2 separate regions of the Homo sapiens genome follow, and region 1 is linked to region 2. Evidence: promoter capture Hi-C in 16 types of primary human blood cells and fetal thymus (Javierre and others, 2016). All regions are on one chromosome and are shown on one strand. The core of a region is centred on a gene start or on the middle of the fragment in contact, and the rest is flanking DNA. Distances in the headings are between cores, read along the strand shown.

Region 1 (5,345 bases), core at 636-3,135, 750 kb after region 2:
TCCTGACCTCGTGATCCACCCGCCTCGGCCTCCCAAAGTGCTGGGATTACAGGCATGAGCCATCGCGCCCGGCCAATACATTTGTATTTTTTATAAGCAATGCCAAACTGCTCTCCATAAGGTTTGTACAATTTTGTATTCTCCACAACCAAACCTGTTTCCTCACAGCCACACCAACGATGTATTTTACAATTTTGGATTTTTGCCAAATTGAATTGCGCAAAATGATGTCTAAGGGCAATTTAATTTGCATTTCTCTTATTACAACTGGGGTTGAGCATCTCTTGATGTTTAAGGATCATTTGCATTTCATTCTGTATGAACTATTTCTTTCTTTTGCCCATTTTTTCTTTGTAGTCCTTGGTCTCTTTCTTAGGAAAGTAAAAGCTATCTTTATCTATTACTGCATGACAAACTACCTCAAAACCTAATGGCTTAAAGCGACATAATTTATTATTCCTCAGGATTCTGCGGGTCGAGTGGGCACAGCTGGGTGGCTCTTGCTCTACTTGCTACCAGCTGGGCTTACTCACTCGGCTACATTTGGCCGGCAGCTTGGCTGAGCTGGATGGTCCACCAAGCCTTCACTCACTTGTCGAGTGCCTTTGTGCTCGTCTGCATAGCCACGTCACCTCGGCTGGGGCCTCCTCACAGCGTGGTGGTCTCAGGGAAGTCAGCCTTCTTACATAGCAGCTGGCTTTCAAGAGGGAGGAAACAGAAGCTGCCAGTCCTCTTAAGGCCTGGATTCCAACGTCAGGAAATGTCACTTCTGCATTCCTTTGGTCATAGAAAGTCACAAGGTCAGCCCAGATTTAAGGAATAGGAAATAGACCCCACCTCTGGGTGGGAGAAGTGGTGTGGGCTGCAGGGAAGGAACGCACTGGTGGCCGTCGGGGCCAAAGACCGGGGATAGACGGGGAGAGCGGGGGCAGCCGCTGGCATCACCGTGAGCCTGTCTTAGCCCTTGGGGGCATCGTGAGGTTGGATTCTTTAAAGACAGGGCTCCGAGGGTTGGGAATCTTGAGGGCTATAACAATACTAAAAACTGAGGACACGCATACATTTCGTTGTGATTTTCGGTGGAGGAACTTAGTGAAGGTGGTGTTACGGGGTCGGGGAGAAAATGTAAAAGCTTGGCCGTGGGTGGGTTGGGGCCGACCCTTTCTCCCACCGGTTTATGGCTGGAGAAGGTGGGAGATGTCAACTCCATTTAGGGGACTGGAGGGACCTGGACAGTTTTGAAGGGGAATTTGAGAGTTGAATTTGAGTGTGCGCTTGTAAAGGACTCAACCCTGCCAGTCGCGGTTCAAGATCAGGGTTGGCTGTAGGTGGGAGGCCGTGCAGTTCCTGGGAAAGCTAACTCACCGCGGTGTCTTTTCTGTCTCACGCCGAGAAGAGCCCTGTTTGTGCTCCGCTACTGCCTGGAGTCTCCAGAGGACGCAAACGGGCGAGGGGATGTGTGGGGAGAAGTACTTGCTTTTTCTTGCTTTCTTCTTTACAGAATTTGTTCTTTTCCCACAAGGCCACTCTAGCCACACCAGGAGCTTTCTCAGAAGCAGTCACAATCTTTTTCCTTTTTTTGTTTTCAGACAAGGTCTCACAAATGACAAACAACAAGACAAATGACAAACAGGCAAAAAAAAAAAATCTTTTTTCTTCCAAGATAAAACCCAAATTGATTCAGCAGACATTTTGATTAGGAAATCCTATAAATCAGGACCACTCTTAATTTCAGACACTCCGTTATGAAGTGTACATCTACCTCTAGGGGATGAATAAGCCATTGAATCTTTTAAAAACTGGCTTTTTAAAAACTGTTGCCGAGGCTGGAGTGCAGTGGCACAATCTTGGCTCACTGCAGCCTTAAATTCCTGGGCTCAAGTGATCCTCCTGATTTAGTCTCCCTAGTAGCTGGGAGCACAGGTGCATGCCACCACCATGCTGGCTAATTTTTTTTTTTTTTTGAGACGGAGTCTCGCTCTGTTGCCCAGGCTGGAGTGCAGTGGCATGGTCTCGGCTCACTGTAACCTCTGCCACCCAGGTTCAAGCGATTCTCCTTCCTCAGCCTCCCAAGTAGCTGGGATTACAGGCACCTGCCACAGCGCCTGGCTAATTTTTGTATTTTTAGTAGAGACGGGGTTTCACCATCTTGGCGAGGCTGGTCTTGAACTTCTGACCTCGTGATCCACCCCCTGCTCGGCTACCCAAAGTGCCAGGATTACAGGCATGAGCCACCGCGCCCCGCCTAATTTTTGTATTTTTGTGTAGAGATGGGATCTCATTATGTTGCTCAGGCTGATCTCAAACTCCCGCCCTCAAGCAATCTTCCTGCCTTGGCCTCTCAAAATGCTGGGATTATAGACGTGAGCCACTGGGCCCACCTAAACAATCTCTTGAGCCTCTCTCCCATCCTCCCAGCCCAACTTTCTTATTCCATCCTTGCTGGTGTCTGTAGGAATGGACAAGAGACCCTGGATGTTTTTCTGCTCTGTGCTGGCCTCTGTGAAGCTGTGGGCCTCAGGCTCTGCACATCCTCCCCGTGCGGTTTGTCTCCTTCTCCCATGCAGCTGTTCTTTGTGACCGAAGCTGGTTTTAAAATGTGGCTTTCCCCGAGGAGAAATCACAGGCTTTGCCCTTTGAAGCTTAATGGTGTCTTACGAAGGTCCTACCCCCAAATGCGAAGGTAGCAAAGCCAGTTTTTAAGAGATTCAATGGCCTGTTCATCCTCCAGATGTAGATGTACGCTTCATAACGGAGTGTCTGAAATTAAAAGTGGTCCTGATTTATAGGATTTCCTAATTAAAATGTCTGCTGAATCAATTTGGGTCTTGTTCTGGGAAAGAAAAGAATTTTTTTGCCTGTTTGTCATTTGTCTTTTGACTTTGCTTATGTTTGTGTCTGTGTGTGCATGTGCACGTAGGGTTTTGTTGAACATTTTATTTGGAAACAATTATAGATTCACAGAAGTTGCAAGGATAGTATCGAGATGTCCCCATTTACACTTCACACAGTTTCTCCCAGTGACAATATCTTACATAACTATGGTACAACATCAAAACCGGGAAAATTGACATTGGTGCAATGTGCGTCATCTTTTTTTTTTTTCTTTTTTGAGACAGAGTCTCACTCTCTCGCCCAGGCTGGAGTGCAGTGGCGCGATCTCAGCTCACTGCAACCTCTGCCTCCCAGGTTCAACCCATTCTCATGCCTCAGCCTCCCGAGTAGCTGGGACTATACGTAGCCCGCCACCACACCTGGCTAGTTTTTGTATTTTTAGTAGAGAAAGGGTTTCACCTTGTTGGCCAGGCTGATCTCTAACTCCTGACCTCAGGTGATCTGCCCATCTCAGCCTCCCATAATGCTGGGATTACAGGCGTGAGCCACCAAGCCCGACCCAATGTGTGTCATCTTATCATATGTGTAGTTTCATGTAACTATTACAATCAAAATACAAAACTGTCCCATTGCCACAAAAATCACCCTTGGGAGCCACCCCATGATAGTCACCTACACAGCCATGTCCCCACCATCCCTAACCTCTGACAGCCACTCGTCTGTTTTCCATCTCTGTAGGGGGTGAATAGGCCTCCAAAAATGTATGTCCAGCTCCTAACCCCTGGAACTGTGAGTGTGACCTTATTTGGAAAGGGGTCCTTACAACTGTAATGAAGAGTCTCGAGTTGAGATCATCCTGGAGTCAAAGTGGGCCCTGAATCCAATGACAGCTGTAAGAAAAGGAAGAAGGACATTGGAGACAAAAGGCAAAGAGGAGAAGGCGATGTGGAGACGGAGACACAGGTGGCAGTGATGCGTCCAAAAGCCAAAGAAGGTCAAGGATTGCGGCAGCCACCAGAAGCCAGGAGAGAGGCATGAATCCAATTCTGTCTCAGAGCCTTCAGAAAAAACACTTCACTTAAACTGGTAAAAAGCAAAACCAAAACCAAACAAACAAAAACATTGACAAAGGGGAATCCACACGCACAGGGCATTAGAGCATTCAACAAATATGAGTGCCTACCGTATGCCAGGTGCTGGACAGAGCATTTGGCATACTTTAGTGAACAGGAAGGTGAAGGCCCTGCCCTTCAGCAGTGACTTGCTAATGGGTTGTTGTTTTTTCCGGGCTATTTTCTTTCTGCTATTCCGATTGGATAATATATATCATTGTACCTCCAAGTTCATGGATTTCTTTCCTCCATCCTCTCCATTCTGCTGTTAAACCCATCCATTGAGTTTTTATATTGTTATTCTATATTTTATCCTTACTTTTTTTTTTTTTTTTTTTTTTTTTTGAGATGGAGTCTCACTCTTTTTCGCCCAGGCTGGAGTTCAGTGGCGCAATCTTGGCTCACTGCAACCTCTGCTTCCTGGGTTCAAGTGATTCTCCTGCCTCAGCCTCCCAAGGAGCTGGGATTACAGGTGCACCCCACCATGCCCGGCTAATTTTTTTGTATTTTCAGTAGAGACGGGGTTTCACCGTGATAGCCAGGATGGTCCCAAACTCCCTCAGGTGATCCGCCCAGCTCGGCCTCCCAAAGTGGTGGGATTACAGGCATAAGCCACTGTGCCTGGCCTCATTTATTTCTTAATATCATCTATTTCTTTGCCTAGACTTTCTCCTTTTTCATTGGTTTCAAGCGCATTCATAATGTGCACATTGCACCATTTTATGACAGCTGCTTTAAAATTCTTATCAGATAATTCTAACATCTGTGTCATCTCAGTGTTCGTGTCTGCTGTCTCTTCTCATTCATGCTGAGACTCTGTCCCTACAAAAATTAAAAAATAATTAGCCGGGCATAGTGGCATGTGCCTGTGGTCCAAGCTCCTCAGGAGGCTGAGGCAGGAGGATCACCTGAGTGCAGGAGTTCAAAGCTGCCATGAGCCGTGATCACACCACGGCACTCCAGCCCAAGTTACAGAGTGAGACTGTCTCCGAAATAAATAAACAAATAAATAAAAATACACACATTTAAAATATTTGACTCAACTCGTGAATGAATGAAAAAATCAGTAAGCTACCACAACTAGTTTAAAGGAGAATTCAAAGAACAGAGACACCTATGGATCATGAAGTGGATGTATAAATATATATCAAATTGGCTCTTTTTTGGTAGGGTTTGCATTAGCTTCCTCTTGCTGCTATAACAAATTATCACAAATGTAAGTGGCTTAAAACAGCAAATGTATTGTCTTGCAGTTCTGGAGATGGGAAGTCCAAAGTGGGTGGACAGAGCAGAGTTCCTTCGGGAGGCCCCATGAGAGCCTGTTTTCTGGCCGGGCGCAGTGGCTTACGCCTGTAATCCCAGCACTTTGGGAGGCCGAGGCAGGCAGATCACGAGGTC
Region 2 (6,125 bases), core at 2,704-5,203:
AAACTACAGAATCGTTGGGAAACGATGCCTGAATCATGGACAAACTTGGAGTGTGTGATTACATAGAGAGAGAGGAATGATTATCAATACCACCTCTTCCATTCCCAGACACAGGGCAATTTCATGCCTATAAGGGGGAATAGGTTTTTAATGTTTATTTATAAAGATCTGATTTGTACAATCCTCACACACTCAGCTCAAATTTTTCAGTGACCAACCGCTTTTATTCAGGGAAGGAGGTGCTGAGATATCCCAATTTTTGAATTCTGTTTCTAGAGGGAAAATTTCCTTACCCAGTGAGACCAGGTTCCTATAGTTCTCCAGCATCACATCCCGGTACAAGTTTCTCTGAGAAGGGGCCAGCTTTCTCCACTCATCTCGGGTAAACAGCACAGCCACATCCTCAAACGTCAGTGACACCTGTAAGGACAAGTCGTTCCAGCTCACCCAGGACCACCCTCACAGAGCAGAGGGGGCGGCAGTGGGAAAGACACGCTACCCGTGAAACACTTCCCATACTATTCAAGCTTCTGAAGGTTCCAGATCATTCGTTTAATGAATAATTGGCCAGTAACAAATGTATACTGAGCAGCACACAGTGAGATTCAGGCCTAGTGCAGCCACTGTAAGAGATGGGTAGAGGAATTACGGCCATTAGTGGGAGTGTTAATTAGAAAACTCTTTCTGATGGCGATTTGCTAATACATATTAGAACCCTCAAAGTATACTCTTTAAAGTACCAATTACTCTATTTGTACGATAATGAACAGTGCACAAAAGTACACACAAACATATTCATGGTGTTTTTAAGAGCAAAAAACCAGGAATAATCTAAATACTTAATGATGGAGGTTAGGTTAAGCAACTGAAGGTACTCTCTATGTGCTTACTCAAGCTTAAGGATAGTAATGACGAAAAGTAAAATAGCTATAATTTATTGAAGGCTTTCTATGGGCCAAGTATTGATCTTAGAGCTTTATGTTAATTTGCAGTGTATAATCTTTATTTAACATTCACAACAATCCTATCAAGACGATACCATTATTGTTGCCACTTTACACAAGAGAAAACAAAGTCACAGACAAGATAAGAAATTTGTCCAGGTCACACAGACACAGTCACTGACCAGCTGTGTGACTTGTACACATTTTTTTTTTTCTTTGAGACAGAGTTTGGCTCTTGTTGCCTAGGCTGGAGTGCAATGGCATGATCTTGGCTTACTGTAACCTCCACCTTCCGGGTTCCAATGATTCTCTTGCCTCGGCCTCCTGAGTAGGTGGGATTACAGGTGCTAGACACCATGCCCGGCTAATTTTTGTATTTTTAGTAGAGACAGGGTTCCACCATGCTGGTCTCAAACTCCTAACCTCAGGCGATCTGCCGGCCTCGACCTCCCAAAGTGCTGGGATTACAGGTGTGAGCCACTGTGGCCGGCTGACTTCTACAAATTTTGTATCCTCTCTGTGACTTTGTTTTTTCTTGTGTAATTCAAATCCAGCAGATGTCTCACTGAGCTTGCATTCTTAACTACTCTGTAAAACTGCCTTTTAATGCCTGCCCCTTAGGGTTAAGAAATAAATGTGATAATCTACACAATAAAGATGGATAGCGATGATGGCTGCACAGCAATGCGGAAGTACCTAAAATACCACTGAATTATACACTTAAAAAGTTAAAATGGTATATTTTATGTTATATATATTTTGCCACAATAAAAAAAGGTTAAAATGGTAACATAGATGGTAACATGCATACACAAACACACACACACAAATAAATGTGTACAGAAAATGATTTATTCGGGCTGGGTGCAGTGGCGCACATCTGTAATCCCAGCACTTTGGGAGGCTGAGGCGGGTGGATCACCTGAGGTCAGGAGTTTGAGACCAGCCTGGCCAACGTGGTGAAACCCCATCTCTAATAAAAGCACAAAAAAAAAAACTTAGCCGGGCGTGATGGCGGGAGCCTGTAATCCCAGCTACTTGGGAGGCTGAGGCAGGAGAATTGCTTCAACCTGGGAGGCAGAGGTTGCAGCGAGCCGAGATCCCGCCACTGCCTGGGCGACAAAGCGAGATTCAAAAAAAAAAAAAAAAAAGAGAACCACTAGACACGGGTGGGGAGGGTGGGTGGTCCTCCCTACAGAATCCACCACTCATGAGGGCGGACCAGCTCCTCCAAGAGAAAAGGACTTGGGCTCCATCCTGGCTGGAGATGGTCCCGGGTGAAGAACTCCAGTTAGTGGGGAAAATCCATCCACTGGGATCTGGGAGGGCAATGAGCTCACCTGGGGCCTCGCTTCCCGCTGCCCAGCAGCCATGTCCTCTTTCTGGCTCTCCCGGGAGGACGGCGCAGTCTCCAGAAGGCAGATCTGAGAAGAAAAAGGGAGCCAGGAAGAACCCCTTCTGCTTTCCAGCCCTGGAATCCGCAGCTCTAAAACCCCGACTCCCGCTGAGAAGGACCCCGCGCGCCCTCACAGGGATTCGGGAGGAGCCAGGAGCCCGCGGACCAGAGCAGCGCTGGGCCGCCCGGCCAGGCCCAGGCCCCACAGGCTTGGGGCTTACGGAGGGGACGCTGGAGCCGCAGTGGCAGCAGCGACCCGCTGAGCCCACCAGGGCCAGGGCTCGCCCCACGCCGCTGAGTTCCTCGGCGCCAGCTGGCACTGCCAGCACCCACTGCACCGCTCAGGAAACTGAGGCAGCGCCGGGGCACCTGCCCCGTTCACGCCGCTGCGAGGCGGGCCGGGACTCCCACCACGACGGCCCCGGGACGACTTCCCTCCGCCTCAAGCCTTTCCCAGCCGGTTCCTCTCTCTCCCGCCAACGAATCATCTCCCGACTCCACGGAAAACGGCTTTTTTTTTTTTGAGGCGGAGTCTCGCTCTGTTGGCCAGACTGGAGTGCAGTAGCGCAGTGGCAGGATCTCGGCTCACTGCAAGCTCTGCCTCCCGGGTTCAAGCCATTCTCCTGCCTCAGCCTCCCGAGTAGCTGGGACTACAGGCGCCCGGCTCATTTTTGTATTTTTAGTAGAGACGAGGTTTCACCGTGTTGCCCAGGCTGGTCTCGAACTCCTGATCTCAGGTGATCTGCCCGCCTTGGCATCCCAAAAATCTAGGATTACAGGCGTGAGCCACCACGCCCGACCCCATGTATCCCATTTCTAACACGATGTTTCTTTTTTGAGACGGAGTCTCGCTCTGTCGCTCAGGCTGGAGTGCAGGGCTTGATCTCGGCTCACTGCAAGCTCCGCCTCCTGGGTTCACGCCATTCTCCTGCCTCGGCCTCACAAGTAGCTGGGACTACAGGCGCCCGCCACTACGCCCGGCTAATTTTTTTTGTATTTTTAGTAGAGACGGGGTTTCACCGTGTTAGTCAGGATGGTCTCGATCTCCTGACCTCGTGATCCACCCGCTTCGGCCTCCCAAAGTGCTGGGATTACAGGCGTGAGCCACCGCGCCCGGCCAAACACCAGCTCTGAAGAGGAAAGCGCTGGGTGTCCCGAGGCGGGAGGGGTGGCCGTCCTGGGGACGGACTCGGAAACCGGGGCCCGGCTGCGTCCGCCCTGCCCTCGGGGTCCCGGTGCCCCGAGTCCGCGAGGCCCACATGGAGTGGGCAGGACGGGCCCGGGAGGAAACGCCAGGCCCGGCGTCCACGGCGAGCCGGACGCGGGTGCACCAGCAACGGCGAGGGAGCGCCCCGCGGGGGGGCGAGAGTCCAGATCCCGGCGCGGGGGCCGGTGACAGACGCGGGGGTGCCCGCCAGCGCCCACAAAGGCTTTCGGAGCCTCGGCAGCCGCAGGCAGTCCCCGTGCCGGGCGCCGCCTCCTACCGGCTTGGCCTGCCGCCGACGCTCACCTCCCTAAGCTCGAGCGTCCCGGGCCGCGCCTCCCCAGCCGCGAGGCTCCGGAACCGCCGGCCGGGATGCAGCCTCGCGACCCGGCTCCGCCCCGACGGCGTCTGGGCGACCTCAGGCCCGGCGCCGCTCACCCCGCGGCGCGCCGGGGACCAGGAGGGGCGGGGCAGCCGCTGAGGCCGCTGGGAAATGGAGTCCACGAGAGGACACCTGCATTCGGGGAAGTGTAGTTCCATGCGTTTGAGGCGGGGTCCCGGCTGAGCTGTTACGCGCCCACATGCCACAAGAGGGCCCCTGTGAGCTGGAGGGCCCCAGGTTCCTGGTTATAGGGAAGATAAGGGGAGGTTCGCTGAGGGCAGTAACTTGCAACTCTGTGTCTGTGGGAATTTCGGGAGGGAGGGCGTGGGCGGCAGGAAAACGGCCCAGAACAGACCTAGTGCCCCTCAGTTATTCACCAGAGGGGCACTGAGCACCTGCTGTGTGCCAAGCACGGTTGCAAGTGGTTTCACATGTATCAATCAATGAAAGAAACGTCACTGCCCTGGAGAACATTTTTTTGGGGGGTAGGGAGCAGACAATAAGCCATACACATAATTATATAACATTTTCGGGGATAAATGTGAGGAGAAACAGGGTATGTGGAGGGGTTTCGTCGCTGAGGTGAGAATGGACGAGGACTCCCAGGAAGTGCCTGAAGCAAAGGGGAGGGAGGTGCCAGCTACTGTGAAGCCAACGGATGTATGTATGTATATGTGTGTGTGTGTGTGTGTATATATATATATATTTTTTTTAAACTAAATCTTCTCAGTTACAAAAAGAACACCGGCTCCATTTAGAAAGTTTGGCGCTTCCCTACTTAAGAATATGCCTTGAACATTTGAATTTGTCAATAAATATTCTCCCTCAGTGGCATTTTTGATAGCTTCATTGCATTCCATTGCATTTATTTTTTTAAAAAAAACGTTTAATTGGCTGGGGGCGGTGGCTCATGTCTGTAATCCCAGCACTTTGGGAGGCCGAGGCGGGTTGATCACGACGTTAGTTCAAGACCAGCCTGGCCGAGATGGTGAAACCCCGTCTCTACTAAAAATACAAAAATTAGCTGGGCGTGGTAGCGGGCGCCTGTAGTCCCAGCAACTCAGGAGGCTGAGGCAGAGAATTGCTTGAACCGGGAGACGGAAGTTACAGTAAGCCAAGATTGCGCCACTGCACTCCAGCCTGGGCGACAGAGCGAGACTCCATCTCAAAAAAAAAAAAAAAAAGTAGTTGCCTCTGAGGAGGGTACTGGGAGCTGGAATAATACTTGCACTTGCTATTTAACACCTTGATATACTTTTCAACATTTTGCTTTACCATATGCATGTATGACATGAATGCTTTTAAGAGAGAAAACAATTTCCAGGCTTGCAAAATTGGCTGTATCATTAGCAATACTTCCAGCACCAACATACAGAAACCTTTGCTAACAGTGGCTTGCATCATGACATTTATTATTTGTTTAAAAAGCGATCTAGAGGTAGGCAGAAGGAACTGACCGCAGTTGGTTTGGTGGCTTGATGACATCAGCGAGGGCTCAGTGTCTTTCCGTCTGTCTGCTCTGCCACCCAAAGTTCTGGCTATGGTCTCCACTCAAGAGCCCAGCATAGCTGCTGCTCCAGGAACCAGTTTTCTCACAGCCACATCCAATATCAGGAAGGAAATTACAGAAACAAAAAGGACTAACTTCCACATGATGATCACCTTTTATTTTCTTTTCCAGAAGCCACCATCCCTTTTCCTCCTCCAACCCATTCAGCTCCTTTCCATCCTTCTCTTGCATTTCATTGGCCAGAATTAGGTCACTTCCTCACCTCTGAACCAATCACAGGGAATTTAGTTCACCTGAACTGAAGCAGCTCCATCATATCTCATCATCTGGAGCTGAGCGCATTGCTCACTGAACAAAATTGGTGTTCTTGACAAAGAAGAGGAGGGCAGTGACTGTTAGGCAGGCAGTAACAGGGTGTACCAGGCAGACTGACTGACCAATTAACTAACCAGCTACCATCCCTTATGAGGAGACAACTGCCAGCCTGTCTGTCAGAATCACAAAGCCTGGAATCTCTCACGACGAAAGGCTATACAATCCTGAGGCCTTGGTCCTATGTTAATTTAGTGTGGATTAATCTTTTGAGATAAGACCATTAGTCATGTGTTGGCATCTGCAAATTAACACTGGCTTCTGGGGAGAAACTCTTCAGGAAGAAAAAAATCACATCACTGCATTTTTCAAAGGTT

Evidence for each region. The method cuts DNA at HindIII sites, captures the fragments that hold promoters and counts their contacts. A CHiCAGO score of 5 or more calls a contact.
Region 1: a fragment that was not itself captured here is called in contact with the fragment with the promoter of ZNF354A in region 2 in 1 of 17 cell types (endothelial precursors); the score reaches 5.7 in endothelial precursors.

Annotation. Positions count from the first base shown.
Region 1 is chr5:179,474,784-179,480,128 of GRCh38, forward strand. No RefSeq gene overlaps it. Among named protein-coding and RNA genes, the nearest start is that of RUFY1, 73 kb to the right of the region's middle. The HindIII fragment of the contact is 1,510 bases long and covers 1,131-2,640 here.
Region 2 is chr5:178,726,706-178,732,830 of GRCh38, forward strand. ZNF354A (zinc finger protein 354A) reads right to left here and starts at 3,954. Exons shown (of 5, transcript NM_005649.3): 1 at 3,851-3,954; 2 at 2,285-2,368; 3 at 294-420. The coding sequence starts at 2,317. RefSeq lists silencers at 3,494-3,723, 3,794-4,133. The HindIII fragment of the contact is 10,949 bases long and covers 894-6,125 here.